Linked DNA regions of Homo sapiens: all the other regions are linked to region 2. Evidence: promoter capture Hi-C in 16 types of primary human blood cells and fetal thymus (Javierre and others, 2016). All regions are on one chromosome and are shown on one strand. Each heading gives the region's core, a stretch centred on a gene start or on the middle of the fragment in contact. The rest is flanking DNA. Distances are from core to core; before and after follow the strand shown. Region 1 has its middle 18 kb from the start of VEGFA. Region 2 holds the start of MRPL14 (mitochondrial ribosomal protein L14). Region 3 has its middle 30 kb from the start of MRPS18A. Region 4 overlaps LOC105375070 (a long non-coding RNA gene). Region 5 overlaps RSPH9 (radial spoke head component 9). Region 6 has its middle 15 kb from the start of MRPS18A.

Region 1 (4,363 bases), core at 49-2,548, 380 kb before region 2:
TCTTACTTTTCCTCAAAAAGACAAGCATGTTCTGGTTTCAGGGAATTTGCCCTTGCTTCTGTCTCAGCCTGGAATGCCCTTTCCCTAGATATTTCCAGGCGTTCCCCCTCATTTCCTTCAGATCTCTACTCAGAATGAGCCCTTTGTTGACCTCATCTAAAATAGAAACAGCCCCTTCCCCCAAAACCTGCTCAGTCTCTATCCCCTCACCTTGCTTTATTTGTCTGCATAGCATTTATCAACACTATTTTTAAAAAATAAATTTATTTATTAAATTACATAGTCAGTGCCGGGCATGGTGGCTCATGCCTGTAATCCCAGCACTTTGGGAGGCTCAGGAGGGCAGATCACTTGAGGTCAGGAGTTCAAGACCAGCCTGGCCAACATGGTGAAATACCATCTCTACTAAAAATACAAAAATTAGCCAGGCGTGGTGGCGTGTGCCTGTAGTCCCAGCTCCTCTGGAGGCTGAGACAGGAGAATCACTTGAACCCGGGAGGCAGAGGTTACAGTAAGCCAAGATCACGCCACTGCACTCCAGCCTGGGTGACAGAGTGAGACTCCGTCTCAAACCAATCAACAAACAACAACAACAAATTACATAGTCCATTTGTGTGTGTGTGTATGTGAGTGGTTATTTCTTTATTGAGATGGAGTCTTGCTCTGTCACCCAGGCTGGAGTGCAGTAGCATGATCTTGGCTCACTGCAATCTCCGTCTCCCAGGTTCAAGCAATCCTCTTGCCTCAGCCTCCCCAGTAGCTGGGACTATAGGCGTGCACCACCACGCCTGGCTAATTTTTGTACTTTTAGTAGAGACGGGGTTTCACCATGTTGGCCAGGCTGGTCTTGAATTCCTGGCCTCAAGTGATCCACCTGCCTCGGCCTCCCAAAATGTTGGAATTACAGGGATGAGCCACCACGCCTGGCCTACATAATTAATTTGAACTTATGATATATTTATCTGTTTGTTGTGCATCTCCAATTAGAATATAAGGTCAGTGAGGGCATGACCTTTGTTTTATTCACTATCTCTGGTGCCTAGAATAGTGCCTAGCACATAGTAGGTGCTCGATAAATATTTGATGAATAAATGATTGGATGTGTTTTCAGACTGAGAAATTTTGAAATGAAAAGTTTATTTTAGAGCACAAATCAGATGAAAAATTATTTCTGTACTTTTTGTTTTATAGTTTAACATTTTTAATGAATTTAAAAACCTTTGACTAGAGCAAGTTAAACACAAAGTAAGGAGAAGACATTAGATAATAAAGATCAGAGAAAAATGTAGCTAGGTGCGGCGGCTCACGCCTGTAATCCCAGCACTTGGGGAGGCCGAGGCAGGTGGATCACTTGAGGTCAGGAATTCGAGATCAGCCTGGCCAACATGGCAAAACCCTAACTCTACTAAAAAATACAAAAATTAACTCAGCGTGGTGGCAAGTGCCTGTAATCCCACCTACTCGGGAGGCTGAGGCATGAGAATTGCTTGAACCTGGGAGGTGGAGGTTGTGGTGAGCCGAGATTGCACCACTGCGCTCTAGCCTGGGTGATAGAGCGAGACTCTGTCTAAAAAAAGAAAAATATCAGAGAATAATGAAGTTGAAAATAGAAGAACATTGAGACAATCAATAAAACCAAAAGCTGTTATTTCAAGAAAATCAATAATATTGATAAACCTCTAGCCAGATTGATCGGGAAAAAAAGAGAAGACACAAATTACCAGTATCAGGAATGAAAGCTGTGATTGACTACAGACTGTATAGATAGTAAAAAGATAAGAAGGTAATATTATGAAAAATTTTACTCCAATAAATTCCATAACTTAGATGAAATGAACTAATTCTGTCAAAGACACATACTATGGTAGCTTACTCAAGAAGAAACAGAGGCAGGGCGTGATGGCTCATGCCTGTAATCCCAGCACTTTGGGAGGCCAAGGTGGGCGGATCACCTGAGGTCAGGAGTTGGAGACCAGCCTGGCCACCATAGTGAAACCCCATCTCTACTAAAAATACAGAAATACAAAAATTAGCCAGGTGTGGTGGCGCACGCCTGTAATGCCAGCTACTTGAGAGGCTGAGGCATGAGAATCGCTTGAACCTGGGAGGTGGAGGTTGCAGTGAGCTGAGATTGTGCCACTCCACTCCATTCAGGTTATCTAGAAGAAACAGATAACTTGAATGGACTTATATGTAATTTTTTAAAGACTGAATTTGCAGTTGAAAGCCTCTCCACAAAGAAAATCCAGGCCCAGATGGCTTTACTGATGTATACTACCAAACATTTAAGGAAGAAATAATAATAATTCTATACAAACTTTTCTAGAATATTCAGGAGGCAGAAATACCTCCCAACTCATCAGATAAGGCTAAAACCAAACAAAGATACTACAAGAACAGAAAACTACTGGCCAATATCTCTCATGAGTATAGATGAAAAATTTCTACACCAAATTCATGTAAATATAATTGAACTCTATCACCTATACACATACTATATATACATATTCATGCACTGCATAATGATTTTTTGGTCAATGATGGACCTTATGTATGATGATGATTCTATAAGATTATAATACTGTATTTTTACTGCAACTTTTCAATGTTTAGATACATGAATACTTACCATTGTGTTACTATTGCTTACAGTATTTAGTAGAGTAACATGCTATACAGGTTTGTAGCTTAGAAGTAATAGGCTATACTACATAGCCTAGGTATGTAGTATGCTGTATCATCTATATGTGTATTAGTATATATATATGTACTAGTGTATATACATGTACACTAATAACATCATGACCAAGTAGAGCTTATCCTAGGAATTCAAGGTTAGTTTAGCATTCAACAATTCAATGTAATTCATTATATTAACAAATTAAAAAGAAAAACCCATACAATCATCTCAATAGATGTAGAAAATACATTTGACAAAACACAACATGCATTTCTGATTTTTAAAACTTAAGCAAACTAAGAATATAAAGGAACTTCCACAACCTGATAATAAGCCTCTACCAAAAAAAAAAAAAACTATAATGGTGAAAAGATAGAATATTTTCTCCTGAATGTGCTTGATCTCATCTGATCTGATCTTGTAAAGCTAAGCAGGGTGGGCCTAGTTAGTGCTTGGATGGGAGACCACCTTGGAATACTGGGTGCTGTAGGCTTTTGGCCTTTGGCTCCCTTCCTAAAAAAAAAAAAAAAAGAATAGAACAAGGATGTCCACTCTTATTGCTTTTATTCAACATTGTACCAGAGGCTCTAACCACTGTAATGTAATAAGGCAAGAAAAATACAAGGCATTCAGATAGGACACGAAGAAGTAAAATTTTCATTATTTGCAGATGACATGATCAACCCTATAGAAGGTCTGATGGAATCTACAAGGAAGCTACTAGAACTAATAAATGAATTTAGTATGGTAGTGAGACACAAAAGTGGTATACAAAAATCAATTATATTCCTAAATATGAGCAATGAACCATTGGAACTTGAAATTTAAAAATAATACTTAAAAATATTATCTGTTGCACTGGGCTCTCAAGGATTCCTCAGTTATGGGAAATTTTCTTAGATTATGTCACTAAGGATGTCTTTCCCTTAGTTTCTCTGTTTCTCCTGTTATTTAGATGTTGTTGTCTCTGCTGGAGTGGTCCTGTAGTTTTATTGCTTAGTTACTTGTAACTTTCCATCCTTTTGTTATTTTCTCTCTACTTTGTGGACATTTCCTCAGCTTTATCTTCCAAATTTCCACTAAATTTTTTATTTCTGCTATCACATTTGATTTTTTAAGACCTGTCTCTTATTCTGTTTTTTTAAAAAACACTGTTCTGTTTTTGTTTCATCTCTGCAATATTTTTTCTTATCATTCACAGGATATGATAATAATGTGTTGTTATTTTTAAGCTTTCTTCACGCTATGTAGACTCAGCTTCCTTCAAGTCACTTTTTTATTTGTTTTGGCCTCTGTCTTTTGTGTTAGAAGCTTTCCTCAAATGTCTCATAATTCTCAGTTGTTTGCTTATTTTTAGGTGTGGAGATTTGTAAAGCTAGTTGGAAGCTGTGTAGGTGTGTGACTATGTATGTGTAGGTATGTGTGTATATGTGAGTATGTATACGAGTGCATGCATGTGGGTGTGTAGGTGTGTGTGCATATGTGAGTGTGTATGTGTGTGTCTGTGTGTGCATGTGTGTGTGTATATGTGACTGTGTATGCTAGTGTATGTATGTGGGTGTGTAGGTGTGTGTGCGTATGTGTGTATGTGTGTGTGCATGTGTGTGTAGGTGTGTGTATATGTGATTGTGTATGTGAGTATATGTATGTATGTGTGTAGATGTGTGTGCATATGTGAGTCTG
Region 2 (4,553 bases), core at 872-3,371:
TATACTTTTTGTAAAAAATAAAAACATATAAAAAATGCCTTCTGGCTGGACAAGGTGGCTCACGCCTGTAATCCCAGCACTTTGAGAGGCTGAGTTGCGTAGATCGATTGAGGTCAGGGGCTGGAGACCAGCCTGGGCAACATGGTGAAACCCTATCTCTACTAAAAATACAAAAATTAGCCAGGAGTGGTGGCTCGCGCCTGCAGTCCCAGCTACTCGGGAGGCTGAGGCATAAGAATTGCTAGATCCCAGGAGAAGCTGCAGTGAGCTGAGATCGCACTGCTGCACCCAGATCTCCCCAGCCTGGGCAAGAGAGACTGTCTCAAAAAAAAAAAAAAAAAAAAAAAAAAAGGCCTTCTAGTGATCCTCAGAAATCCAAAAACCAGACAACTATGGCTTCCACTTCCATTTTTCAGATATCCATTATAATACTATTTGACCTCAAAGTGAATTTTATTGTTCCACACAAGCAACAGATTACACCAATTTCACAACTCCCAGAATCCAAACCTACAAAGACCCTTCCCACCAAGCACTTTACCAAAAACGGGCTTCATCTCCATCTTCCTTTCTTTCACAGTTGAAAAACTGCCCTTCCTAATTAAGCCAACCAACTTCTTACCTCAATAAAATCCTTGTTTTTCAGTAGCACGTACAGTATTTCCAGTGATGAACAGTGAACTGTCTTTCGTCTCACACAGTAACCTCCGTGAAGAAGATCCACCTTGTTCTTTACTGTATATTCCTGGCATGCTAACTGCATCCTCAGACAATTTTAAGTGACTGAAAACTCAGGCAAAGAAAGGCAAGAGGGCAAATAGAAGGGCACAGGAGACAACGCTTTTCAAATTTTTCTCACTGCGACCTACAGAAACACACTGTAGAACACCTCCTAGTACACTCACACGTGTGTGTACACCTGAAGTGTCAAGAAACAATACCCTAAGTGCAACACCCTCTGATATTTTCTATTTCAAGTGGCCGTGATCTACTAAACTGATTTCCAACTCACCAATAGGATTCAGTTTGAAAAACACTGCAATAAATCAAACCTTACAGTTGCATTCCACAAGCTACTAATGAACTCTTGAAAATCCAGCATACAGCAGAGACGCTGACCAACTACAAGATCCAAACCCCCCAGGTGGGCAGTGTCCTTCTGTTCAGCAGTGGCAGTTCCCCACCACCACCAGCCCTGAGAGTTAATTATCTCCCAAACTCCCAGAGTTTCCCAAGTAGCCTGAGGTGTCTGTCATATGCCCTTTTAACCTCTTTATAAATTCAGTCCCGTCCGTCTCTTACGGTGGCAAAGTTCATTTATCGTCGGCTGTGGAAAGCAATACTTCCTTTTTGTCCCCTCCAGGAACCAGAAATTAAATGACCAGGTTGGTGCCCGTTGTGCCTTTATGATCTATTTGTGTGGGTGATATATAGAAAGAGTCTCAGTCTCTCCCTTCATCTTTCCAGTCTTAATCACTGGTAGATGCAGTCTCTGGTGAAATAAGAAACCAGGGAACCCCCTGGCCTGGGGGAGGGCGCACTCATCAGCGTTGACAGAGTGAAAGCAAAAACTCAATCCTCACACCACAGAGGCGTCTGGCTAACTCATCTCCAGACCTAAGTTGGGAAAGGGGAGGGGAGCGCGGAAAGCGGAGAAGCCGGAGGAGACGCTCCGGAGTGACCAGCGACGGCTGAACGCAGCCCGCCCTCCCCAAGTCGACGCCGCAACCCGGGGAAAGCAGGTGAGCGCCGGCCACGGACTTGGGGGTCGCAGAAGCAGCCCACGGAGAGCGGAAGGGAGGAGGATCCGGGTAAGGGGCCTCCCCTCCCCGTCGGGACCCCCCTCCCCGTCGGGACCCCCCCCTCCCCGTCGGGACCCCTCCCACTGACGCTCTGCCTCCCACTCTGGCCTCTCCTCACTCACCCCGGGGAGTGGGCCTCCCCTACTGCAGAGAAAGGAAGAGGAGAAGGAGGGAATGAGGACTTAACGCCCACCCCTGCCCCCCACCATACCGCTCTCGCCGCCCGGGAAAATCCCGCCGCGGGCCCCACCAGCCAAGCGCCGCCTTCGCCCCACGCGGCCTCTTCCTAGCGCCTGCGCGCCAGGCCCAGCCCGGCGGACGCGATCTGAGAGTGCGCGCGCACCTTGCGTGCGCCGGCGTGCGGGGCGGGACCTGCGGGGCTCCGCCCCCTCCCCCTCCCTCCCCCCGCTCCCCCTCCCCCATACACTGCCGCGGCCGCCGCAGGAGCCCGGAGCTCGAGCCGCCCAGCGACTCCCCCTCCCCCTCCCCCAGCCCCGCCCCGCCCCAACCCGGGGCTCCGAGCCGGAGCCGAGTCTGCGCCTGGGGGTGAGTACGCGACCCCTACCCAGCCCTCGCTCTTTTCTTCGAAGATCCCACCACCACCCAAAGAAAAAACCTGGACTCAGCTGCGCGTCCCCTCCCTTCAACCTCCTGCGGGACCCAGAGGTGCCCGGGCCCGCGGGACCCAGGGGTGGCGCGCGCTGCCCCCAACCCCGCACCATCCCGAGCCAAATGTGAGTCCTCCAACCCCTGCCGGAGGTCCAGATACGCGCCGCCGGCTCTCCCCAGCCCCGGGGAGATCCCAAAGGGTGGGACCCCCGCCCCCGGCCCCCGAGTGCCACTCTTCTCCCACCTGCCCGGTGCAGGTGCGCGTCCCCTGCGCGACCCTCGGGGGTGCCAGCTGCGCCCCGCCTGTCCGCCGCCGTTTGGGGAACTAGCCGCCCCCGCCCCCGAGTTTTGGACCCCGGGGTCGCCAAGTCCGATGCCTTCTGTGCCTTTTATTTTTTCTGCTGCTCCCGGGGGCGAGTACACCCGAAGCCGGTCCGGGGTAAGGGCTCGGGCTCGGGCAAGGGCAGGGTTCGCAGGTGCTGGCACGAGGCCGGCCGCTGCCCCCGGCTCTGGGGACTGACTGGTCGGCGGGCTGGAGAGGCGGCCGGCCCCGGGAGCGTGTCCTCTCCTTGCGCCCCACACAGTGCAGTTCATTCATGAGCCGCCCGGGCCTGCGTTGGAGGGTGCGGTGGGGAAAAGATTCAGACGCGAAACCGAGAGTGGGGCAAAGGCCCTGTTGTGGGGAGGGGGCGCCGCTTTGTCCCTCCTGGCTGTCTTGACCGCCTAAGGCGGACAGTCCCAAAGCTTGGCACCTTGTTCCCCAGAAAAGGAAAGGACGCTTGGGAAGTGGGGAGGAGAGGTCAGAGGGGCTGGCTGCCCTTGGGGCGCTGTGCTGCCCCCTGCCTGGGTCCCCTGGGCAGAGGTCTGGCCGCTCGGGGCAAGCCTGAGCACTCCACCGCCCTGGGGGGCTGGGGCTTGCCTACCCATTACCAGTCTGCAGCAGCCGGGGAGCAATGAGGCTGTGCCCAACACCTGCTGAAGAGGGGCCCATCCTGCCTCCCAGGCCAGGGTGAGGTGGGGAGTGGGAGTGTCAGCCAGGCTTCAAGTGGGGGTGTGCTGGCAGCGTGATTGTCCTCCAGGGCACCAGAGGGTCCAGGCCTTGGCATGCCCCAGGTGGCACATGCTGGGGCCTGCTGTTGGCTCACTCAGTGCAGTCTTGGCCTGTGGGTGGATGGGGACATGGCAAGGCAGAAGGCAGGCAGTGGGTAACTAAGAACCCCCTTGGACATCATTCAAGTTCTCTCCAAGTATAGCAGAGTCTTAGAGACCTGCGTTCAAATTCTAGCTCTACTATTCTTCAGCTGTGTGACCTTGACAAGTTACTTAACCTGTCTGAACCTCAGTTTTCATTAAAAAGTGTTTATGCCTATAATTCCAGCACTTTGGGAGACTGAGGCGGACAGATCACTTGAGGTCAGGAGTTCGAGACCAGCCTGGCCAACATGGTGAAACCCCATCGCTACTAAAAATACAAAAATTAGCCGGGCATGGTGGCACACACCTGTAATCCCAGCTACTCAGGAGGCTGAGGCAGGAGAATGGCTTAAACCTGGGAGGCGGAGGTTGCAGTGAGCCGAGATTGTGGCACTTCACTCCAGCCTGGGTGACAGAGCAAGACTGTCTCAAAAAAAAAAAAAAAAAGAAAGAAAAGAAAAAGAAAAAAAGTGTGGTTACTACCACCTCCTTACAAGTTTTATCATGGGAATCAAACAAGGTAACAGAAGTAAAGAGCTTGGCATCCTTCCTGGTAATTGATCAATAATGGGTTATCATCTCTGAACTTCTGACCCATAACTCTCCCATGCCTCCACCTCCCAGGCTACCACAGATGGATGGGGTATGTTCAAAGAGTGAGAATATTCCCTGTCACTCAGTGGCAGAGTCCCTAACACAGTGTAAACCCTTAGGTCTAAATAAGAAGCCCAACCTGACTGAGGGGCTCTGTTATATTTCTATCATGTTACATTCTGTGTTTTTATCTTATTTTTGTTTTTACCAATTTTCTTTCTCTAAACCAACCCCTTTTATTCCATACCTTATTAATAACAATAACTAATTCCTAGAGCCCATTATATGCCTTGAACTATATTAAGAGCTTTACATAAGTCATCTTGTTTAATCCCCAGAACAACAACACAACTG
Region 3 (4,773 bases), core at 1,197-3,696, 410 kb before region 2:
GACAGGAAATTTCAGGAACATGGAAGGAGCAGAGGACAGAATATCAGAGGTTGGGAGAAGTCCAGGTTGTCCTAGGGTGCCCTCAAAGAGTATCCAGAGCCCCCATGAGCGGATCCTCAGGAGCCACTGACTGCCCTTTCCCTGGGTGTGTTTCTTGCTTTGCCAGTTGCTGCTCCTCTTCTGCACGTCTTCTCCTTGGCTAGTGCAGGGTGGTGGAGGGTCTCCAGAATTCCCCTTTACAGGATGGGGAGGACGGGAGACCAGGGAGGAGGAGAACCAAGAGCGAAGGGGCTGGAGCCAGCCAGCAGGGAGGCCCGCCATTGGCCCAGCTCCCAGGGCCTGGGCCTGAGGACTACGGAGCTGCCTGCCCCTCACCATTCCCTCCCACTGCCCCCTAGGGCTCCTTGGCTGCTGAGCCTGCCAGATGGGCCCCCGCCAAGCCAAACAGCTGCCAGGGGGAGAGGAAGAAGCATTTCCGAGCAGAGAGGCCCCTGTAGGCTCCTGCTGAAGCCTAGAATCCCCCTTTCTCACCGCCAAGTGAAGGGGGAATCTGTGCACATGCACATAGGCATGCACGCATGGCACTGGGGAGCCCAGGCGCAGGGCCACGGGACCTGGGACATGCAGGGGCAGAGGGGTGGGGGTCTGGAAGCAGGCTTGGGCAGGGACCATGGCTGTGCCAGGTAATAGGGAGTCTGGGGAATTAAGCTTGGCTCACTCTGAGGTTGGGGAATGTAGTGGATTGAATAGAGACCCCCAAAGTTTATGCCCACCTGGAACCTGAGCATGGGACCTTATTTGGAGATAGGATCTTTGCAGAGGTAATGAAGGTGAGGATTGAGATGCGATCACGCTGGATTAGTGTGGGCCCCAAATCCAGTGAAAGCGTCCTCCTAAGAAACAAGTAAAAACACTGAGAGACGTGGTGGGGACAGCCGTGTGAAGACGCATGTGAAGGTGGTGTCAGAGACTGGAGCCCACAGCCAAGGAATGCTTTGAGCCACCAGAAGCTGGACAGGAACTTGGCCCTGCTGGCATCTCAATTTCAGACTTCTGGCCTCCAGAACTGTGAGAAAATAAATTTCTGTTGTTCTAAGCCACCAAGTTTGTGGTCATTTGTTTCGGCAGCTCTAGAAAATGAAGACAGGGAGGCATATGGAGGAGGGTTGGGGTGGGGGGAGTGGGTAGGTGGAGGCTTCATAAGAAAGCCTTGGAAAACAGGATACAAAATATTGACCATTTATCTTGCCACTATTCTGTGCCAGGCACTTTTAAAGATATTTATCTCTATCCTCACAATGACCCTGCCACAGAGAATTATGGTTTCCATTTTACAGTGAGGTTCAGACCCAAGTGAACTCCATTTAGTTAGGATTCCAACCCAGGATCCTCTGTCTCCCAAGCCTGGCCTCTGTCCACCTTCTTTCAAGGGTGGCCCCAGTAGATTCCAGGGCAGATGACACTTGCTTTCAAGTTGGAGGGGTCTCCAGGAGTCTGAGAGGGGAACATAATGATGCTCTACTGGGAAACAGGGGAAGAGGCCATTACTGCTCTGGGGGCCTGCTGTGCTGGATGCCCTAGAAAATCTCGACTCACCACGATGTTCCTGTAGGCCTCAGTGACATGGCCAACGGTTTCTTCATGGTCCTGTACCCTACAGAGGGAGGCATCCCTACTCACCTCATTCCCACTATGACAATCACATCACTCCCTCCACCACCATCGCTGTCTCCATCATTGCCACCTCCATCACCACCGCCATCACCTTCACCATCATCCCCTTCACTGTTACCATCACCACCCTGAAACTGCTATAATGGCTGTCACGACCAGTACTTCTGTGTCCATGTCACCATCTCCATCACAACCCCTCTACCCCCACTACCATCACTGCAAAATGGTGGAGAGGTGAGAGGCCGGTAAGTCACTCAGGGAAGGACAGGACAGCCGAGCAGGATTTAGCAGGGGAGGAGGAGGAGGTGGGATGTGTCTGGCTGACAGACAGGGTCCATAGTGAAGGACTGCCCTAGGTTCAGCCTTGTTGAGAGGGAGGTGAGTCTGCCTGGCTGGAGTAAACACTTGGTAGGACAGGCTGTCTTCGCGGGCGTTGGTTTGGGTGGGTGGAGGCTATTCTAGCAACACATCCTGCCCCTGCCTGGCTCACGATGGTCTCTGGGGGATGTGGATTTTGGCGGGTCCCTGGCTCGTGGCCACCTGCCTGGCCTGGCCTGGCCGTAGCAGTGAGGTCATGAGAGTGGCTGTACTGGGAGTACTGGGGAGTGGGGTGGAAAGGAGGGGCGCGCCCTGGCTGGGAGAGGAAGGCCTCTCTCCCCTGGCTGACTCTACCCATAACGATCATAACGATGAAGTAAGCACGAGCCTGGACACTCCATCTCCCCAGACTGCCCTCCCTCCGGCCTGCCCAGCTTGCCCCGGGCCTGGGTTCTGGGCGCTGCAGGCTCTCTCTGCCAAGGGCTCTGGGTTTCCCATTCCCTGGTGACATCTTGATAGTTGGATCAGCCACCTGAGGGAATACAGGGGCCAGAGGCTCTGATCTGGGTGTAGGGAGAGAATTGACTGTGGAGAAGGGCGTACTATTTCTCCACACTTCCTCCTTGTTAGACTCAATATGCCTGTGTGTGGTGTAGGGAGATGGTGGCAGAATGTTCCAGAGACTCGGGCCCCAGCCGCTCCCCTCACCTCTTCCCTGCACACCTGGCCACCTCCACTGCCTTTAGAGACTGGGGACCGGCCAGCTCTGGGAACAGCCTCTCTCAACCCTTCCAAGCCCTGAAACTGCCCAAATGCCCAGCTAATCCCACCCTCTAAGATCTCACTTGAGAGCTGTGGGAAATGGGAAACAATACTATCGTGGGATGTGTTTATCTCTGCATCAGGCGTGAGAGCCCGGCAGACAGGCTGGCGACTGGAGGGGCCAAGCGGCCACTGAGTCCCTGAGACAGGAGATCGGAGGGTGGAGTCAGTGAGAGCACTGGGGAAGGGCCCCGGCTTCCACCCACATCCTGGGAAATGGCTGTGGCTGAGCCACCTCTCACTACAATCATTCCTGGGGGAAGGCCTTTTGCTGGCTTAGGAAAGACTTTGGACTTCGACAGGACACGGAGACCTTTTGAGGACCATAAGATAGTGACAGCTAGTGTTCACTGAGCATTTACTGCATATGGAGCCCTGTCCAGGCACTTTATATGTGTCCACTCATTTAGTCCTCCCAATATCACTATGAGGTTATTACAATTACTGTTATATGTATTTCACAGTTAAGGAAACGGAGGCGCAGACAGCTAAAGACATTTGCTGAAGGTTAGAATGATGGAAGGTGGAGCTAGAATTTGTGTCCAGCTCTTCTGGCTTCAGAGCTCATGCTCTTTACTCTGGGGTGGAGTGGGGTGGATTTTTTGAGTTCCCACTCCAAACCTACCCACCCCTTCTTCTCCAGGGTCCCTACCTGGTATGGCAAACAGCACAGAAATGGGAGCCAGGAGCCTTGGGTCCTTGTGCCTCTAACCTTGCTCTGTGGCTGAGGGCAAATTCTTGCTCTCTCCAGCCTCAGTTTCCCCATCTGCCCACTGTGCCAGCATTGGACTCATCCAGGGATCCCTGAAAGCCCTCCCGGCCTGATATCTGGAGCTGAACTACCCCAGCTTGGAGCTGTTCCTGTTTGTGGGGCCAGCCTGGGCCCTGGGAATGGTGGGGAGATGGGAGTTGGAGGGTGGAACCCAATGGCCTGGAGGACCCCTGGGTGTCCGGACAGCTCTCACATGGCCCCATGGCAGCCACCTCTTTGACTGTGCTCCATCAAGAGGAGCGGCAGGAGCACAGATCAGAGACAATAGCCAAACATGCTCACCCACCCACAGATCCCTGCCTGGCAGTGGGGCGGGGAGAGGGTCTGCCGGGATCCAGTTCCCACCAACCCCGGACTCCTCCGGCATCTCCTGACTGGGCCCCTCCCCGCACAAGTGGTGATAGGAGTAGGCAGATCCTTACCCTCCTTTCAGAGCACCCAGTGGGCAGCAAGCATCTCTGATTATCCTCCTCACCCCATGCAGCCCTTTCTTCCTCTCCTAGCCATACCTTAGATGGCCTTGCTTTTTATCCAGCCACATTTTCTGAGCCTACTATGTGCCAGGCACTGTGCCAGGTGTAGGAAGACAGGGATGGAAAAAGCTTGATTCCTGCCCTCAGGTGCTCACAGCCTAGTGGGAATTAACCCTAACCCATCCCACATTCCCTGCCCTCCACGCTTCACCACTTGGAGGATCATCAAAGGCAGAGCGCAGAGGGCAGGGGAGGGATTCTTCAGGGCCCAAAGGCCAGGGAAGTTCTGGGGGCACCAGAGCAGGCAGCAAGAGTGGGAGCTGGAGCCAGCAGGCCCTGGGAGGAGTGCGCCTGGTCCTGAGATCCTTTTTGATGATGACTACCTAGGCTGCTTGAGTGGAAAGAGGATGGGGTACTATCTTTCCCCTTGCTGGAGGTGACTTCAAGCAGGACAATAGCCTGTTTGCTGAGCTGGAACCCTAGAGTCTGTTAAGGCCAACTTGAGTTTGGTAATAGATGATCCCAGAATTTTAAGAAAAAGAGGAGCACAGAGCCACAGAGCTGAGATGAAGGTAGCGGAGGACAAATTTCCATGTGGGGAGTGAGGCTCACTTACAGAAGCTGGTGAGTCTGAGGTGGTAGGTCTGGTTGGGTTCATGTCTTACGAAAAGTGACTGTAGTAACTTGACCTGTGAAATGGGGGATAATCTCATC
Region 4 (4,646 bases), core at 1,396-3,895, 310 kb before region 2:
TATTTAAAGTGGAGTGAGAACTTCCTGGCTCTTAAGAACCAATCAAGGGTAGATTCCTTCCAGAATAGGCCCTCCACCCTGCCCGCCAGCACCATTCTTTATAGTCTGTCTCTTCTATGCCTTGCTCAATGGCAATTTTTTCAGCTGTTTCCTGTTACCAAACTCTTCCAAAGTGTTCAACCTGGATTTTTAAGAAAAGAAGAAAACTCTTTCTTTTCACATCATATTTCATTGTTTTGTGTCATATTTTATTAAACTGCATACTTACAATAACAAGCACAACTGGCAAACAGGTTTGGGGACAGAAATAATGGCTTTTGGGACATGCTTGATTTGGCTGGTGGGAGCAGAAATGGGCAGGCACATTGGAGAGCACCCGGCTGGAGCCCTCCATGAGGTGGGCCTCTGTCTGAAGGCTTCACAGGGGGACTGAGGGGTGATGGGTGAGTCCCTAGGCGAGGCCAGTTACCAAATGTCAATGTGGGCGAGTCAGAGAGCTGTCCTTGGGTGATACTTTCTGTGAAGTTTTATAAGAAGCTGAGTTCTGCATTCAGTATTTAGTACACATATTTGGAGCCCCCAGTAATCGATACGAAATGCTATCAGTCTTTAAGTGCTCAACACTGATTAGGTTTTAAAAGTATATTTTGTACCATAAATAATTAGATCTATATTTAATGAGCAGACCTAGGGCACAGGGTGGTGGTTCCTTCTGGAACTTAAGATTTTCCCAAGCCAAGCTCAGGAAAGGCAGGTAGGTATGGCAGTTGGAGTGGGAGTGGCTGACCCAGATGGCCTCTTTGTTAATCAGGTGTCTGTACTTGCCTAGGCCTGGGGCCTGTTCTGAAAGCCAACTTTTTGGCTTCAAGGAAGTTCTATTCCTAAAGAGAGTGAAGGTGAGGTTCTCTGGAACAGCAGAAATCTGGATCCAGATATCAGGGCTAACAGGGTGTGTCCTGTCCTCCAGCCATGGAGGCAGCAGGAGGAGGTGGATGGCGCCTTCTCGATGACCACTTGGCCCAAGGCAACACAGCGGGTGGGGACCTCACCTGTGAGGACTTGCTAGGGCAGAGCATCTGGACTGTTCTCAACTGGCTCTGGGGACCATTTAATCTTTCAGAGGGTGGGGGAAGTGAATGGAAGAAGGAGGGATTGGTTGGAAAAGCTTCAGTGACAGGGCAAACCTGGGCTAAAGGCAACCAGCTGGTCTTGATGGAGTGCACCTGTAGTCCCAGCTACTCAGGAGGCTGAGGTGAGAGAACCACTTAAACCCAGGAGTTCAAGTCCAGCCTGGGCAACATAGTGCAACCCTGTCTCTAAAAAAAAAAAATTTAAAAATTAAAAAAAATTTAAAGTGGACCTGTTCTGTTATTTGTAATCGAGAGGGAAGGGAAGTCATCAGTTTAATTCCTTCGAACCATAATTTATTGAGTCATTGTGTTAGGCTCTGGGAATACTAAGAAAAATAAGACACCATTCCTGCCCTCAAGGAGTCTAGTCATGGAGGCAGATACCAAGATTGTTTTTATGACAGCCCACATCAGTTGGGAATATATTTGGTATCAAGCAACAGAATACCCAACAGACAGTGGCTTGAGCAATAAAGACATTGATCAATATCACATCACTGGAAGTCTGGAGGCAGAGGGTTCCAGCTTTGGTGAAAGGATGACATCAATGATGCTATCAAAACTCAGCCTTTTTCTATCCTTCTGCTCTGCCATCTTCAACGTGTTAATTTTTGTCTCCATGCTTGTTGCCTCCTGGTCACAAGATGGCTGCTATGGTGACTCCTATAATTATATTCAAGGCAGAAAAGAAAAAAGCCAAGGAGAGAAAGGGGCTCTATTTTTATCAGGGAAGAAACGTGTTTCCCAGATACCCCCTCTGAAAATGACCTCTCATGTATCATTGGGCACAACTGAGAGGAAATGCTTCAGGGAGGCTGGGAAACTGAGGGACTAGCAAATAGGAACAGGATGCTGGTGATGTCTTAGATGAAGCTTGACTCATCTTCTGGGCCTAGATACATTGTCACCCGAAAAGGTGAGGTTCTGGTGGCAAGGAAGAAAGGGTGGAGCAGAATCACTGTTAGGTAGGATGAGCAGTGCCTGCCTTGTGTGGTAAGAGCTAGGATAGGCTCAGGATGCAAAGAGAAACCAGAGGAGCAGAGTTGGCCTAACTTGGGGGCTCAGGGAAGGGTTCCTGGAAAAGGTGGCTCCTGAGTGAGTTTTAGAGCAGCTGTATCAAGAACAGTTGCAACGTCATCCTAGGTAGATTGACAGCAGGAGCAGAAGCAGAAATAGACATGTGAAATAACCTAGTATGTCCAGGAAAGTGAGCACAATTAGATATTTAGTTAAGTGATGGGGAGAGAGAGAGACAGAGAGAGAGAGAGAGGAGGTGCAGGTGGAGAGGGGAAGAAACCAGGCCACGGTGGGCTTTGAAAGTCATGCTGTCAACCTTGTCTAACCAATTTATCCTGGCTTCTGCCAGTGCAGGGGCAGGGCTGGCTGTGCAATTTAGAAATATTACTCAATGCTGGTACAGAGATTGGGTGGGTGGGAGAGGCCGTGAGAAGCTCAGAGTGCAGCAGGGAGACCAGCAAGGAGGTTCTTGCAGCCATCCAGATGAGAGCTGTGGAGGGCCTGGAACAGACTTGGGCCTGGAACAGACTTTCCAAAGTCAGACTGCCAATATTTCAGCAAAAAGACAGGCAGGGTTCCATGCCACGAATCTCTGGGTGGGATAGCTGTCTCAAGAGGGCTGGGAAGCTCTCAAAAATGTACATGACACTGTGCAATCCCACACAGGGTAGTCTGCGTCCCAGTAATGAAGGAAGAAGGGAGGTGACCACAGAAATCAGTGTGTGGCAGGAGAGCTCTTTGCCAAATTGCTGTGTTAAGGAGGCTTGAACAGAGAAGGGAAGGACAGATGTGAGACAGGACTACGGGCCTGTAAAGAGAGTTTCTGGAAGATAAAAATAGGTAGAGGTTTGTGAAAGATGCTAGGGGCAACCCAGGCTTGTTTAGCTGTGATCATAGCCAGTCAAGATCAAGGGATCCAGAGGCTGCAGTTGGGCCTGATGACACAGCACGGGTGGGGAGTGTACGAAGAGTAGGGCTCCTTGCTGCCCCCTGGCAGGAGAGCAGCCTGCAAACCCAGAGGGCAGCAGTAGATGACACAGAGGCCCAGGGAGCCCTGGAGGTGGGATGGGCCCTCCCCTCTCCACTGCTGCTGGGGTGTTCAAAGGGCCTCTCCCCATAAAACAACACTTGGGGCACAAAGGAAGCTTGTGAACCAGACTGCTGGGGCCACTTTGTCCCACCTGAGAAAGCCAAGAGCACGGGGGCCTTGAGAAGGGAAAAACGTGGTTCTGAGTTTTAAAAAGAGTCCTGGGCAAGGATCCTTGTGGATTATGGAAGGAGTAGTTAGTGAGCATTAGAAAAGTGGGAAGCTTCTGGATAGCTGGAAACATGGCCGTTCCTGGAGGGCGGTGCGCCCAGGGAGGGCATGGAAGCTCCACGTCCTTCCTGCATACCTTGTCTTACGCATCTGTTCATTGTATCCTTGGTACCCCATGTCTGAAGGACATAAAATGATCTTGACACCTGAAACATCCATGCTGTCCCGGGTGATGTCAGAAAAACACTCTAATGAGGACAGCAGTGCCCAGGAGGGTTCCATAATAAAATGGAAATGGCTTATACAGAATCATGCAACCTGAGGAATGTAAGGAGGAGATATGAGCAGGGAGCCTCATTACACCCTAGGACTGACTGTGGAACTGTGTGAGGAGCTGTGGATCCTACAGTGCTCTCAACTGACCAGCAAATAGCTGCTTGGTTTGTGGATGGCAGTTCCAAGGTAAATGGACAACCTCCTGTTTGGAAGGCTGCTACTATGATCCAAGAAGGTAAAAACTAATCAGCTTGGTGGGCTGAATCACATGCTGCTTTCCTAACAGCGATGGAAGAATTGAACGATGCCAGAAGCCCCTGTGGTTGGGTTTTTACCGACTCATGGGCATTGGCCAATGGCCTGGCCAGATGGTTAGGCAGAAGGGCAATAGAAACCTGGCTTATTGAAGAAATGCCCTTACGGGGCATGGCCCTGTGGAAATCTGAGGGGTGCCTTAAAGTAGAACATGTCAACGCCCACTAAGAAAGCCCCTCTCCATGTTTGCAAGGTGACTGGAATTGACAAGCAGATATCTCTGTTTCTTTGAGGTGTTCACCTGGGTCCTTGAAATGAGCAGAGATGGGGGTGCAGAGAAGGGCTGGATCTAGACATGTTCCTTTTGTACCCTCTCCGGCACAAACTGCTAATAAGACTGTTCTGTTTGTCAGCAAGAGAGCCAGAGACTGCCAATGGCTATGTGGCCATTTCCCTGGTGGGAAGGCCCTAAAGAAAGCTGGCAAGTGAGTGGTACCCTGAGGGGCTACAAGTGGGTCTTGACAGAAATAGACACTGGCTCTGGAGTGGACTTTGCTTACCTGGTGGAAGATGAAAATTTTTAGAGTGCCATAAAAAAAAAAAAAAAAAACCAGAACAGAAAATATCGCATGGATTTGGATGGCCAACCATCCTTTTTTCAGACCAAGGAACACAGTGTACAGCCCATAATATCCAGCAATGAGCAGATA
Region 5 (4,351 bases), core at 289-2,788, 470 kb before region 2:
CATCTCTGTCCACCAGTCACACAGGTCCTCTATTTAGGGGACATTAACTCTCTCTCTCTTTCTTTCTTTTTCTTTTTTTTGAGACGGAGTCTTGCTTTGTTGCTCAGGCTGAAGTGCAGTGGCGCCATCTCAGCTCACTGCAACCTCCGCCTCCTGGGTTCAAGCAATTCTCCTGCCTCAGCCTCCCGAGTAGCTGGGATTACAGGTGCCTGATGCCACACCCAGCTAATTTTTGTATTTTTAATAGTGACGGGGTTTTACCATGTTGGCCAGGCTGGTCTCGAACTCCTGACCTCAGGTGATCCGACCGCCTCAGTCTCCCAAAGTATTGGGATTACAGGCGTGAGCCACCGCACACAGTCTGACGTTAACTATTTTGCATGTGCATGTGTGTGTACATATGTGTACTTGTGTGTCTAAATTTTTCTGCTCCAAGTAGAGTCTGGATCAGAAGCTTCACCATGTCCTAAGAGTTAGAAATGTAGGATCTTGGGCCCCAGCATCAGGTATCTGCCTTCTAAAAAATCCCCTGGGCATTGGCCAGGCACGGTGGCTCATGCCTGTAATCCCAGCACTTTGGGAGGCTGAGGCGGGTGGATCACGACGTCAGGAGATTGAGACCATCCTGGCTAACACGGTGAAACCCTGTATCTACTAAAAATACAAAAAATTAGCCGGGTGTGGTGGTGGGCACCTGTAGTCCCAGCTACTCGGGAGGCTGAGGCAGGAGAATGGCATGAACCCGGGAGGCAGAGCTTGCAGTGAGCTGAGATCGGGCCACTGCACTCCAGCCTGGGCGACAGAGTGAGACTCTGTCTCAAAAAAAAAAAAGAAAAAAAAATGGCAGCATGTTATACACATGATTCTGAACCTTGCTTTTTTTCACCTAATGATATATTTTGGAGATCTTTCTATATCAGTGTCTTAAAGAGCCTTCCCATTCTTTTTTTTTTTTTTGAGATGGAGTCTCGCTGTCACACCCAGGCTGGAGTACAGTAGTATGATCTTGGTTCACTGCAACCTCTGCCTCCCGGGTTCAAGTGATTCTCCTGCCTCAGTCTCCCAAGTAGCTGGGATTACAGGCACCTGGCACCACGCCTGGCTAATTTTTATATTTTTAGTAGAGACGGGGTTTCACCATATTGGCCAGGCTGGTCTCCAACTCCTGACCTCGGGTGATCCGCCCGCCTCGGCCTCCCAAAGTGCTGGGATTACAGGCGTGAGCCACCATGCCCAACTTCCGGTTTTTTTTTTTTTTTTTCACCATTGTGGGAATGTACCATAATTTTCCCAGTGTCTTATTTATGAAAATGTAGGTTTCGAAGTTTTATTTTATTTTTATTTGTTTTTGAGACAGAGTCTTGCTCTGTCACCCAGGTTGGGGTGCAGTGGCACGATCTTGGCTCACTGCAGCCTCCATTCCCTGGGCTCAAGTGATCCTCCAGCCTCAGCCTCTCAAGTAGCTGGGACTACAGGTGCATACCACCATACCTGGCTAATTTTTGTATTTTTTTGTAGAGATGGGGTCTTGCTATGTTGCCCAGGCTGGTCTTAACTCCTAGTTTCAAGCAATCCTCCCACCTCAGCCTCCCAAAGTGCTGGGATTTATAGGCATGAGCCATTTCATCCAGCTGATTTCCAAGTTTTAGTTCTAACAAACAGTACCATAATAAATGACCATATAGCTGGGCATGGTGGCTCACGCCTGTAATCCCAGAACTTTGGGAGCCCAAGGCGGGCAGATCACGAGGTCAGGAGTTTGAGACCAGCATGGCCAACATAGTGAAACTCCGTCTCTACTAAAAATACAAAAAATTAGCCAGGCACAGTGGCGCCTGTAATCCCAGCTACTCGGGAGGCTGAGGCAGGAGAATGGCTTGAATCCGGGAGGCGGAGGTTGCAGTGAGCCAAGATCGCGTCATTGCACTCCAGCCTGGGTGACAGAGCAAGACTCCGTCTCAAAAAAAAAAAAAAAAAAAGACCATATAGACATCACTTCCATTGTGTGTAATTCCTGGGAAAGTCAATTCCTGGAAATAGACTTGCTAAGTTAACAAGTAAGGAGCCTATGTTTTGAAACAATACAATCCCAGAATTCAAAGCACAGCTGTTGCACTTGAACCTGGGTGATGCCGAAAGTCTGAGTCTAGGTCTGTGAGCCCTCAGCTGCATCCTCACCCACTCCTACCTGATTGACTTAATCTTCCTGAGCCTGTTTTTTTTGAGACGGAGTTTTGCTTTTGTTGCCCAGGCCAGAGTGCAATGGCGTGGTCTCGGCTCACTGCAACCTCCGCCTCCCGGATTCAAGTGATTCTCCTGCCTCAACCTCCTGAGTAACTGGGATTACAGGCATGCGCCACCACACCCTGCTAATTTTGTATTTTTGGTAGAGACAGGGTTTCTCCATGTTGGTCAGGTTGGTCTCAAACTCCCGACCTCAGGTGATCTGCCCACCTCAGCCTCCCAAAGTGCTAGGATTACAGGCGTGAGCCACCGGGCCCAGCCGTGAGCCTCAGTTTTATTATTATTTTTCTGTAAAATTGAGATAATTGTATTTACTTTGCAGGCTTGTGTGGATTAAATGAGGTGACATATTTAAAGACACTGGCCTCAGCACTTATTAAAGCTTAGTTTCTACCTTTCTTTTGTAAACCATTCAGGTAGGCTGCCCATGGCAAATAGGTGGCTCCGTGACTCTCTAGGGGCCTCTGTTGACACGCATTCTCTGTCGAGCTCTTCCACAAAATCTCTATGAAATCCTTTTGTTCAGAGTTGCCCTAGATAGTAATTGTAACTAAATTTCATCTGTGTAAAAAGGGTATGATATGGGGAAATGCTTGCAAAATAATGTTAAACTGAAGAGAAGGATATGAAACAATATAAACTGTGACTCTAATTTTGCTTTAAATATATGCATAGAGGGCTGGGTGCTGTGGCTCACCCTGTAATCCTAGCACTTTGAAGGCTGAGGCAGGGAGACTGCTTGAGCCCGGGAGTTGGAGATCAGCCTGGGCAACATGGAGAAACCCCATCTCTACCAAAAATACAAAAATTGACTGGGCGCAGTGGCTCACGCCTATAATCCCAGCAGTCTGGGAGGCCAAGGTGGGTGGATCACCTGAGGTCAGGAGTTCAAGACCAGCCTGGCCAACATGGTGAAACTCTGTCTCTACTAAAAATACAAAAATTAGCTGGGTGCAGTGATGCACGCCTGTAGTCCCAGCTACTCAGGAGGCTGAGGCAGGAGAATCTCTTGAACCTAGGAGGTAGGGATTGCAGTGAGCTGAGATCCCTGCACTGTACTCCAGCCTGGGCGACAGAGCAGGACTCTGTCTCAGAAATAAATAAATAAAAATAATAATAAAAAAAGACAAAAATTAGCTAGATGTGGTGACATGTGCTTGTACTTCCAGCTACTCAGGAGGCTGAGGTGGGAGGATCATCTGAGCCTGGGAAGTTGAGGCTGCAGTGAGCCATGATTGTGCCACTGCCCTCCAGCCTGGATGATAGAGTGAGACCCTGTCTCAAAACAAAAACAAAATGACAGCAACAATAACAACAAAACATGAAGAAAGTATACCAATATGTTATCAGTGATTATCTTTAGGAGGTAGGATTATGAGTGGTTTTAGTTATCTTTGGTATGTCTTTCTATATTATCCAAATATTCTACAGTGAGCATGATTACTTTTATATTTTAAAAAGGCAAAATAAGCAACAGTTAAATATGCTGATAGGATGGTATGCCTCTGGAAGAGTACATGAGAAACCTTCAATGGTGGCTGCCCCCAGTGAGGGCAACTAGGGTCTCGGACTGGGGTGAGAGAAAGACTGATTTTTTCCTGTAGTTTTGAATATCATACCACCCTTATGTATTACGAATTAAAAAACAAATAAAAAGAAAGGAAGAAAATCTTGATAGGAAGGAAGGCGAGGGCCTGCCCAGCGTGATCTGTGTGGCTCTGGGGTCCACTACACTGCAGTGGTGCGGGTGAGATGGCCGTGCAGAGGGACCTTGCGCCGGGGTGCCTGGGCACAGTGCCCTGGCAGGGGGGCTCCTCTCCTGTCTCCTCAGGTCCAGATCAAGGAAGAGACCCGCTTGGTGTCTGTCATTGACCAGATTGACAAGGCTGTGGCCATCATCCCCCGAGGCGCCCTCTTCAAGACCCCTTTTGGACCCACCCATGTCAATCGGACCTTTGAAGGTGAGTTCTCTGGGGCCCCTCTCAAGGGCTGGGGGTATCTTTTCCCAAGCACAGTAGAACATATGTCTGGGAGTCCAGCAGGGGGGCTTACACACTTTATCAGAGAAGGAGTAGCTGTGACCTTATCACCTGGGAGGGTGTGCCCA
Region 6 (4,673 bases), core at 323-2,822, 430 kb before region 2:
GCCATATGTCCACTCTTTTCTAGGAGTACAGAGTCACTCAGGGCAACTGGATTGCTAATTTTGTCTTTTATTTATTTTATTTCTTTCTCCAACTTAAAAATTGTGGCAAAATATGCATAAATTTTACCACCTTAACTTTTTTTTTTTGAGATGGAGTTTCACTCTTGTTGCCTAGGCTGGAGTGCAATGGCACAATCTTGGCTCACTGCAACCTCCGTCTCCCGGGTTCAAGCGATTCTCCTAACTCAGCCTCCCAAGTAGCTGGGATTACAGGCATGCACCACCACGCCTGGCTGATTTTTTGTATTTTTAGTAGAGATGGGGTTTCTCTATGGTGGTCAGGCTGGCCTTGCACTCCCAACATCAGGTGATCTGCCTGCCTTGGCCTCCCAAAGTGCTAGGATTACAGGCATGAGCCACCGCGCCCAGCCCATCTTAACCATTTTTAAATGTATAGCTCTAGTAGTATTAAATACATTCATATGGCTGGGCGCCGTGGCTCACGCCTGTAATCCCAGCACTTTGGGAGGCCAAGGTGGGTGGATCACCTGAGGTCAGGAGTTCCAGACCAGCCTGACCAACATGGTGAAATCCTGTCTCCACTAAAAATACAAAAAATTGGCTGGGTGCAGTAGCTCATGCCTTTAATTCCAGCACTTAGAGAGGCCGAGGCGGGAGGATCGCAAGGTCAAGAGATCGAGACCATCCTGGCCAACACGGTGAAACTGCGTCTCTACTAAAAATACAAAAATTAGCTGGGCGTGGTGGCACGTGCCTGTAATCCCAACTACTCAGGAGGCTGAGGCGGGAGAATTGCTTGAACCCAGGAGGCAGAGGTTGCAGTTAGCCAAGATCGTGCCACTGCACTCCAGCCTGGCAACAGAGCAAGAATCCATCTAAAAAAAAAAAAAATTAGCCGGGCGTGGTGGCGGGTGCCTGTAATCCCAGCTACTCAGGAGGCTGAGGCAGGAGAATTGCTTGAACTGGGAGGCAGAGGTTGCAGCGAGCCGAGATTGCGCCACTGCACTTCAGCCTCGGTGACACAGTGAGACTTCATCTCAAAAAAACAAACAAAACAAAACAAAACAAAAAAAATTCATATTGTTAGGCAACCATCCCCACCTTCTATCTCCAGAATTCTGTTCATCTTATAAAACTGAAACTCTGCATTAATTTACACAAATTCCCCATTCCCTCTTCTTCCCCTTTCCCTGGCACCACGCTTTCACTTTGTCTCTGGATTTGATGACTCTAGGTGCCTCATATAAGGGGAATCACTCAGTATTTGTCTCTTTGTGACTGGTTTATTTCACTTAGCATGATGTCCTCAGGTTCATCCATATTGCAGCAAGTGTCAGAATTCCCTTCCTTTTTTTTTTTTTGTTCTGAGGCAGGGTCTCACTTTGTCCCCCAGGCTGGGTGGAGTGCAGTGACATGATCTTGCTCACTGTAGCCTCCACCTCCCGGTTTCAAGTGATCCCCCTGCCTCAGCCCCCCAAGTAGCTGGGACTACAGACATGTGCCACCATGTCCGTTACTTTTTGTATTTTTTTGTAGAGATGGGGTTTCACCATGTTGCCCAGCCTGGTCTCAAATTCCTGAGCTCAAGTGATCCACCCACCTTGGCCTCCCAAAATGCTGGGATTACAGGTGTGAGCCACTGCGCCTGGCCATTCCCTTCCTTTTTAAGGTTATATTCCATTGCATGTACGAACCACATTTTGCTTATGTGCACTTGGGTTGCTTCTGCCTTTTAGCTGTTGTGAATAAGCTGCTATGAACATAGGTGTACAAACCGGCTTTCATTTTTTTATTATTAAAGCCTATTTTTTATTGATTGCTTATTATGTGCTCAGGACTGTGTAGACTTAATCATTTAATTGTCACAAGTACCTCCTAGGTGGCAACTATTCTCTCCATTTTATGAATGAAGAAATTGAGGCTCTGACAAGCCAAGTAATTTGTCCGAGGTGACGAAAGGGGAGAGCCAGAATGAGCACCTGCTCCTGTTCTTTAACCACCATTTTACTGAATTGTGTTGATGATGGACATGAAGATGAGGTCTTGGGGTATATTGCCTGCAACACCTCCCTCCCCTCTCCAACAGAAAGGGCAGACTCTTCCCCTGACCATCTGCCCAGTGAGATTGGGAGTGAATCCATCCTGCCTGGATGATTCCATCAGCAAGGGCTCTCATTCCTGGCTGCTCATCAGCATCAACCAGGGAATTAAAAGATGATGGCCTGGCCTCTCCCCGGAGTTAAACAGAACAGTTGAATTGAACTCTCTCAGGGCTGGAGCCCAGGCAGCAGCGTTTTTTAAAGGCTCCTTAAATGGTTCTATGTGCAGCCAGGGTTGAGAACCACTGGGCTAGAGGAGAGCGGAGGAAGACTACAGGAGAACTGGTTCCCTGTCCAGCCTCTTTGACTTTCCTTGTGAACTGCTCCACCGCTTTCCCAAGAGTGGCATTTGGCTATGAATGCCCTGAATCCCGTGACTCAGAACCCCTGGAGTGCCTCCCTTCTTTTCCTCCAGAGGTTCTGTTTGGGGTGTGTGAATGTGTGTGTTTGTGTGTGTGTGTGTGTGTGTGTGTGTTTGTGTGTGTGTCCCCTGTGTGACATAGGGCCCGGATGGACCTATCTGGACCAGCCAGACCCTAGAATGAAAACAAGTTGCTGACAGCCCTCAGGCCGCCAGAAATGAATTTCCGTCACCTCCCAATGAGGGGTGAGGGAACTGAGGGGGAGGGCCGGGGTCAGTGCGTCATCAGAGGGTGGGGAGAGGAGGAGGGGAGTACACAGGCCCCACAGGGCGGGGTCAGGGAAATTAGCCTCTGGGCCTGCCCCGGCTCTTTTGCCTGTGACTGTGGCACAACTCCCGTGGTGTTTTGCCCCAAGCCCCACCCATCCTGAGTCTCCCTGAGCTCTGTCTAAATCCAGGGTGGTGTCCAAGCCTGGAGAATTTCCAGGTTGGGCTCTGCCCTAAGGCATCCAGCCTGTGGAGCTGCTTGAATGGGGGCACGTTGGGATGAGGGGGATCAGTTAGCCTGTCCTGGGGATCTTCCTCCAAGCCAGCCTTGAGCCAAGACCTGTAAGATCCATGTGGGCCTAGCAGCCTGCCAGCTCAGTGCCTACAGCAACATGGAGGAAGGGGCTGGGGGTGCAGAAGAAGACCTACCTTGGGCACTGGAGGACAGAGGTTCAGCCACTGCCCTCCTGTGTGCCCCTGTGCAATCACTTCTCTCTGCGCCGTGACATCTCCATGTGCGTTAATTATAAAGGATTAAAGGATTTGGCCCAGATCCCTAGTTCCCAAATTCAGTTGCGCTTTGGAATCTTTCGGGGAGCTTTAAAAACTACCATTGACAATTTCATCCTCCAGAGATGCTGATTTAATTGGTGTAGTTTGTGGCCTGAGCATCAGGAGTTTTAGAAGATCCCCGAGTGAGTCTAATTTAAAGCCACGTTCTAGAAAACTACTTCCTAGCCACAGATACATCATGGCACCCATAGAACATGACAGTATTTGAACAACACACTGTTTCTTAGTCGCTCTGTGCCTCAGTTTCCTCATCTGTACAATGGGGATAATAATGGAACTTGCTTGGTAGGGTTGTTGTGAAGATTATATGAGCTAATGCAGAAAGGCATTGAGAAGAGCACCTGGCAAGTAGTAAAATGCTCAATAAATGTGAGCTGTTTTTATTAATTACCCTCTGGCTCTGCTCCAGATCTGGCCCAACTTCCACCCTCTGTCTTATCTCTCCATGTTCACACACCTCACCAAAGCGACTCAACCTGGTAAACATTTACTAGGGGTCCTCTGTGTGAACCATGCTGTGCCAGGCATTGAAGAAGGGATGTGGTGCATTTGGAATCACCTATGAAGCCGGGGACCCAGAGATGCATAAAACAGGTTTTTGCTCTCAAGACCCACAATCCAGGCCGGAAGAGGCAAGCATGGAAACAGACCTGGCAGAAACACTTCAGGGCTGTTTAATACAGAGGATACTGTCACTCTTTCTGCTTTCTAGGGACATGGCATGGTTCCTCTTGGGGAAATGATTCTTTTGTGGGGAAATCACAGCAATGGGCCCTTTGTGCGAAAAAGGCATGGCTTGACTATGTGAAGATGAAGTCAAGACAGTGATAATTTTGCATAAGATTTGAGGAAGCTGGCATCTATCTCTGAGACAACTGGCCAGAGAGGAGTGGAGATGGGGCCCTCGGAAGAGGGCCAGTGGGTGAGGACTACCATCAAATAAATCTCCAGGCAGAATTAAGCCTCATCTTGATTTTTAAAAAGCATTTTTGTTTGTAGTGGTATATTTTCATATTTTAATTTTTTTTTTTTTTGAGATGGAGTCTCACTCTGTTGCCCAGGCTGGAGTGCAGTGGCATGATCTCGGCTCACTCCAACCTCTGCCTCCCGGGTTCAAGCGATTCTCCTGCTTCAGCCTCCTGAGTAGCTGGGATTACAGGCACGCACCACCACGCCCGGCTAATTTTTGTGTTTTTAGTAGAGGCAGGGTTTCACTATGTTGGTCAGGCTGGTCTCGAACTCCTGACCTCGTGATCCGCCCACCTCGGCCTCCCAAAGTGCTGGGATTACAGGCGTGAGCCACCGCACCCGGCCTTTTAAAATTTTAAGAGTGTGAAAGTATATATAATGAA

Evidence for each region. The method cuts DNA at HindIII sites, captures the fragments that hold promoters and counts their contacts. A CHiCAGO score of 5 or more calls a contact.
Region 1: a fragment that was not itself captured here is called in contact with the fragment with the promoter of MRPL14 in region 2 in 2 of 17 cell types (monocytes and neutrophils); the score reaches 6.1 in monocytes.
Region 3: a fragment that was not itself captured here is called in contact with the fragment with the promoter of MRPL14 in region 2 in 6 of 17 cell types (naive CD8 T cells, erythroblasts, naive CD4 T cells and 3 more); the score reaches 8.1 in naive CD8 T cells.
Region 4: a contact is called between a fragment that was not itself captured here and the fragment with the promoter of MRPL14 in region 2, in 1 of 17 cell types (monocytes). The highest score is 5.6, in monocytes.
Region 5: a contact is called between a fragment that was not itself captured here and the fragment with the promoter of MRPL14 in region 2, in 2 of 17 cell types (monocytes and non-activated CD4 T cells). The highest score is 5.4, in monocytes.
Region 6: a contact is called between a fragment that was not itself captured here and the fragment with the promoter of MRPL14 in region 2, in 4 of 17 cell types (neutrophils, monocytes, activated CD4 T cells and 1 more). The highest score is 5.5, in neutrophils.

The regions. Positions count from the first base shown.
Region 1 is chr6:43,749,777-43,754,139 of GRCh38, forward strand. No RefSeq gene overlaps it. Among named protein-coding and RNA genes, the nearest start is that of VEGFA, 18 kb to the right of the region's middle. The HindIII fragment of the contact is 5,224 bases long and covers 1-3,910 here.
Region 2 is chr6:44,125,331-44,129,883 of GRCh38, forward strand. It overlaps MRPL14 (mitochondrial ribosomal protein L14), which reads right to left and starts at 2,122. Exons shown (of 3, transcript NM_032111.4): 1 at 2,014-2,122. TMEM63B (transmembrane protein 63B) reads left to right here and starts at 2,224. Exons shown (of 24, transcript NM_018426.3): 1 at 2,224-2,348. RefSeq lists silencers at 1,855-1,914, 1,945-1,994, 2,015-2,414, 2,455-2,564, 2,745-2,904. The HindIII fragment of the contact is 11,989 bases long and covers 1-3,153 here.
Region 3 is chr6:43,715,827-43,720,599 of GRCh38, forward strand. No RefSeq gene overlaps it. Among named protein-coding and RNA genes, the nearest start is that of MRPS18A, 30 kb to the left of the region's middle. The HindIII fragment of the contact is 3,480 bases long and covers 707-4,186 here.
Region 4 is chr6:43,814,244-43,818,889 of GRCh38, forward strand. All of the region lies in intron 1 of LOC105375070 (a long non-coding RNA gene), which reads left to right. Among named protein-coding and RNA genes, the nearest start is that of LINC02537, 36 kb to the right of the region's middle. RefSeq lists enhancers at 2,861-2,910, 3,031-3,090. The HindIII fragment of the contact is 1,289 bases long and covers 2,002-3,290 here.
Region 5 is chr6:43,651,487-43,655,837 of GRCh38, forward strand. It overlaps RSPH9 (radial spoke head component 9), which reads left to right. Exons shown (of 5, transcript NM_152732.5): 3 at 4,076-4,205. Among named protein-coding and RNA genes, the nearest start is that of RSPH9, 8.6 kb to the left of the region's middle. The HindIII fragment of the contact is 2,172 bases long and covers 453-2,624 here.
Region 6 is chr6:43,700,155-43,704,827 of GRCh38, forward strand. No RefSeq gene overlaps it. Among named protein-coding and RNA genes, the nearest start is that of MRPS18A, 15 kb to the left of the region's middle. RefSeq lists an enhancer at 2,750-3,735 and a silencer at 2,838-2,937. The HindIII fragment of the contact is 6,909 bases long and covers 1-4,673 here.